2 separate regions of the Homo sapiens genome follow, and region 1 is linked to region 2. Evidence: promoter capture Hi-C in 16 types of primary human blood cells and fetal thymus (Javierre and others, 2016). All regions are on one chromosome and are shown on one strand. Each heading gives the region's core, a stretch centred on a gene start or on the middle of the fragment in contact. The rest is flanking DNA. Distances are from core to core; before and after follow the strand shown.

Evidence for each region. Contacts are between HindIII fragments. The CHiCAGO score rates a contact against its expected background, and 5 or more counts as called.
Region 1: a contact is called between a fragment that was not itself captured here and the fragment with the promoter of P2RY12 in region 2, in 1 of 17 cell types (megakaryocytes). The highest score is 5.8, in megakaryocytes.

Annotation. Positions count from the first base shown.
Region 1 is chr3:151,189,167-151,191,866 of GRCh38, forward strand. It overlaps MED12L (mediator complex subunit 12L), which reads left to right. Exons shown (of 45, transcript NM_001393769.1): 14 at 1,551-1,765. Among named protein-coding and RNA genes, the nearest start is that of GPR171, 13 kb to the right of the region's middle. The HindIII fragment of the contact is 3,739 bases long and covers 1-2,700 here.
Region 2 is chr3:151,383,409-151,386,108 of GRCh38, forward strand. It overlaps P2RY12 (purinergic receptor P2Y12), which reads right to left and starts at 1,345. Exons shown (of 3, transcript NM_022788.5): 1 at 1,284-1,345. MED12L (mediator complex subunit 12L) reads left to right here. Exons shown (of 45, transcript NM_001393769.1): 34 at 371-480; 35 at 675-810; 36 at 1,622-1,783. The HindIII fragment of the contact is 1,524 bases long and covers 531-2,054 here.

The sequences.
Region 1 (2,700 bases), core at 120-2,619, 190 kb before region 2:
GGAGGAGGAAGATGCTTGTGAAGAAAGAGGTAAAGCAACAACAAACAGTACTCTTCTGAGTCCTCTGAGGAGGGGCCTGAGTGAGACCTGCAGGTGAGGTTCTTTGAGACAAAGGGCTCTCTCAGTTATTTGGTGGCTTCCAGGCTAGAAGGAGAGCAAGCACTGGAGCTAATCTAGTGGTTGGAACATAGGGAGGAGTAATTCATGGAAAAGGAAGCAGAAAAGTGAAAGGACTGAAGAGATCCCTGATAGCAGAAAATATATTGTCAGGCATGAAGTTAGCAGTTGTAACTTACCTTGTACCCTGGGGGAGACAGACATTTGCCCTTTGCTTCCCTCGTTTCTTCCCCATTCTTGTTCTCTCTTTAGGAAAAACTCCTTACTCCTGTGTCTTTGCTAGTTCATCTCATTTACTGTCTGTCAGAAAAAGCTGATCTGTTCCCTGAAAGAGGCTGCTCATCACCGAGTTTGGTAGTGAGCAAGAGGAAACATTTAGGTTCAAGGTTTAGGGAACTGAGCTTAATGTTCCTTGGATAAATGTGTCTCCTATTGGTGTTTGTGAATGTGATGGTACCAAGGATTGAGCTTTGCAGGTTCATCTTACAAATTTTGAATCTTATCTTAAAGGTGTAGTCACAAAACTTTAGAGTGCAGTGACAATATTGAAAGTCATAATGTGAGTTAAATAGGCTAGTTATGAATAAAAATAATCTGCAGAGCTCCATCTTTGTGTTCTTTTTATTCAGTTGTTCCTTTTTCTTTTCCGTGGATCCTGCTTACATTTTTTTCAAACACCATTTAAATTGTGGTTCAATTGTAAAATCTCCTTTGAAAATGTGCACCCATATTCTCACAATTGCACAGACCCACTCAAGCTAGAAAAAGCAGTCATGAACTGTTTTATTAGTAAAACCAGAGGACGGCAGTCTAGTCCTGCTGTCTTTTTTTCTGATCCTGAAATTTTGCTTTTTTACATTAGTACTTGAATGGGTATTCAGGACTACTATCTTTTTTTTTTTTTTGAGATGGAGTTTCGCTCTTGTCGCCTAGGCTGGGGTACAGTGGCACGATCTTGGCTCACTGCAACCTCCGCCTCCCGGGTTCAAGCGATTCTCCTGCCTCAGCCTCCCGAGTAGCTGGGCTTACAGGCACCCACCACCATGCCCAGCTAATTTTTGTATTTTTGGTAGAGACGGGGTTTCACCATATTGGCCAGGCTGGTCTCGAACTCCTGACCTCAGGGGATCTGTCCACCTCAGCCTCCCAAAGTGCTGGGATTACAGGTGTGAGCCACTGCACCCAGCCAGGACTACTATCTTTAAACTTGTAATCATGTTTACCATACTGGATATTTTTCAGTTATGGTGGGACAATCAAAACCTGCCTGTCAGTTCTGCCCAAAATGCTAGTGCCTCAGTAAATCTTCCAATAGATCTTTTTTTTCCCCAGAAAAGTTGATTGTGAAAAGTAATGAAAATATTAAGCCTTAGTAATTAGTTTTTTTCTACCACCTGCTCAAGGAATTCTTGATTGAATTTGTTTCTCTATAGCGGACCCAAACAGTGAATGTGAAAAGGTGGAATTTGTGAACCTGGTGCTGCTCTTCTGCGAGTTCATCCGCCATGATGTCTTCTCCCATGACGCATACATGTGTACCCTCATATCTCGAGGAGATTTGTCAGTCACTGCCTCAACTCGGCCGCGGTCACCAGTAGGGGAAAATGCAGATGAACACTATTCAAAGGACCATGATGTGAAAATGGAGGTATGGCCCTGGATATGATGCCCCACTCCCCCAGAAACTAAACTCTACTGGGAACCATGTTCAAATGGGTCATGTAGTGGTAGAAGAGTGATGGCTTTTTGTTGTATTCTTTTGCCCCAGTGGTTGTTTATCTCTACTTCTCGAGCAGGAAAGATATTTACACTGTAGCTTCTTATGTCTTCCAGAATTTCCCTTTGGATACTATAAAACTGTAATGAAAATAATCTGACAGGCCATAACATTTTTCATAGGATTGGAATTATATACTTTCAGTTCTAGATGTTTCTAATCTCTAGTTTTTCTTTAACATTGTGTCTCAAAACTGGACTTGTTTTGACCTTTAAGTGTCAGCTGAGTTTTCATTCTAAGAATCGTCTTTTCCCTAATGTATCATTCATTACTTATATCACTCTTTTATTCATAATGGGAAATTCTTTGTTAGTCACAACACATATTTTCATTTCAGTTAATTAAAAGTTTAATCTCTGTTTCTCAAATGTTGTAGAAGTGTCCTTTTCAACAAATTATTTTATGCTATGAGTGTGACTTTATAATTTTCTGCCAAATTCTGGTATTTTGGATATTGTTCCAGATACTTACTGAAATTTTCAAGGCAAAAAAGATGGAGGTGGTGATAGGAAGTTATAGAAAATGACGAGAACTTGAGACAATTGCTTAAAAACTGACAGTTTAGCCTGGGCACGGTGGCTGATGCCTGTAATCCCAGCACTTTGGGAGACTGAGGCGGGCAGACCACCCGAAGTTGGGAGTTTGAGACTAGCCTGACCAACATGGAGAAACCCTGTCTGTACCAAAAATACAAAATTAGCCGGGCGTGGTGGCACATGCCTGTAGTCCCAGCTACTCAGGAGGCTGAGGCAGGAGAATTGCTTGAACCCGGGAGGTGGAGGTTGCAGTGAGCCGAGATTGCGCCA
Region 2 (2,700 bases), core at 95-2,594:
AAACACAAAGATGCAGATAATTGGATTACATGACTTTGACATTATTCAGGTTTAATTCAACTATAATTGCATCATAAAACTGGACATCATAAAAGATTTGGAACAAAAGAAAGCTAAGTTTATTGGTGCCCACATTCAGATACTCACGTCCCTTCTTCATTTTAGTTAATGTTTGAATGACTGAACTGTGCTGAAAGAACTAAAAATAGTGATAAACATGTAGGTAAAAGAGAAAAGATAAGGTAATCTATAAACTAGAGCATCCCTTGTTTTTTTAAATAAAAAACAATCAAAATTTGATAACATAAAGCAATGGGGTGTTCTTTCTGTTTTACAGAATGCAAATATCTTACTGTATTTTGTCTGCTAGGTAGGAGGAATGTTTGACACGGTGCAGAGGAGCACCCAGTGGACTACAGACTGGGCCCTGCTACTCCTTCAGATCATTACTTCAGGAACTGTTGACATGCACACTAACAAGTATGTTTTTATCACTTCACATTGATTTTGCTACATGTATGCATGGTATAAGCTTTGATATACTGATGGCGATTTCTGCCACATCTTATTTACTTGGATGCTATTAAAAATTCTGTGCCTTGAATAAAAATACTCAGTTAAATAAGTGTATTTCAGTTTCACTTTAAGATGAAAATAATTATTTTCTTTCTTAGTGAATTATTCACAACAGTTCTTGACATGCTGGGTGTTTTAATCAATGGAACGTTAGCCTCTGACCTATCAAATGCATCCCCTGGGGGATCTGAAGAGAACAAGCGTGCATACATGAATTTAGTAAAGAAACTGAAAGTAAGTTTGAGATCAGCCTGTATTATGAGCTCAAGTTGTTTATGGATTTATTATCTAGTGCATTTTAATTTATTACTCATTAAATGTTATTAATTGTATTCAACTTAATTTAATGTGATTATTTGCTATTTGTTTCACCTAACCTTATTAGTACCCAGAAGTTACATGCACATAACCTTGATTATTTTTTATTGAAAACAATTACATTATAAAACATGTTTAATTTTTTAAAGAACTTTAGAAATCCACTGTTAAATATATAACCAGAATACTAACATTAGATAGATTTAGGATAACTCTATGCTTGGACTGGCACGTGTAATTGAAAAAATAGCCATCTGCATTGAAATTTATAAATCGATTCATTTGACCGACCACTAACAGACTCCTTTAAAAAAAAATTGTAAGAAAACAGTGCAAAAAAGAAACCAAATAAATCTGATGCATTACCAATCAAATAAATCAATGGTTACCTTGTAATCTGACCCTGGACATGAGAAAGTGTTCTGTTCTGCAGCTCCTGTCTTCTGATTGTGATCACTACCCTGGATTTTTGTCATTTCAGCACTATGATGTTTGTTGTGTAACAACAGTGCCTTTGTATGTGTTCTATTTTCTACTTAAATAGAAGAAATGAAACACTCATTGCTCTATTTGGAACTGCCTTGTAGAACATGTTCAGGGTTAAAGAACATGCGCTAAGCTATAAAAAGGGAAATGTTTCATAGGGGAACTTCCTTCTGGTTAACTTTTGCCTTCATTGTAATTTCTGTCCCACTTCTCACTCTCTCTCTCTCTCTTTTTTCTTTAGAAAGAGCTAGGAGACAAGCGATCAGAAAGTATTGACAAAGTTCGACAGTTACTACCTTTGCCGAAACAGACATGTGATGTCATCACTTGTGAACCTATGGGTTCCTTGATTGACACAAAAGGAAACAAAATTGCTGGATTTGACTCTATAGATAAAAAACAGGCAAGAGTGAATGTTTTTTCTTATATATAAATTTATTTACAAAAGATGAAATACTTTTTTTTGTCTTACCATAGGATATATAAAATATATTAATTTTGCTGTTGATGTTTTTAAGGCATATGCTTGTCTTCTAAGTGTACTTAGTCATTGGCATTATCATATAAAGAGGTCATATCTTTGAAGATCTACGTTTTATATGTTTAAAGGACTTAAAATGTTTCCCTGAATTTAAGTAAATTTTTGGAAACCTACCAAGAGAAAACTAAGTAAAAGCTTAGTGTAAAAAAAAAATTGCATAAATAAGTTCTGATTATACTTCAGATTTAGAAGCAGAATATATTTATCAATGAAAAATTTCTTGTAAGCTGAGCATGGTGGCACATGTCTTTAGTTCCAGCTACTTGGGAGGCTGAGGCAGGAGGATTGCTTGAAGCCAGGAGTTTAAGGCTGCAATGTGCTAGGCTCATGCCTGTGAATAGCCACTACACCCTAGCCTGGGCAACAAAGTGAGACCCTGTCTCTGGGGGGGGAAAAAAAAAAAAAAACCTTCCTGTAGTAAGCTATTTCAAATAAAAATTATTTTAATTGTTAGGATATTCTCTATTCCTATCAAGCAGTATTTAATGGACATTTGTTTTATATAAGATATTAAAGATGGTTCTCTAAAATATGAGAAAATTGGTCAGTTACTCTTTTAATGAACAGTAAGCAACCACCGACATTCCACAATCACCAAGATGAAAGACAGAGTTCCTACCCTCAAGGGGGAAGTAGACAGACAATTACAGTGTAATGAGATTTGTGTGACATGGTACAGAGAGAGTATTAGGGGATAGAATAGAGGGTCCCCAGGAAAATTGACACGAGTCATTTTGAAGGATTAAGAGTTAGCTGGGAGGTAGGGAAAATTGTGGTAC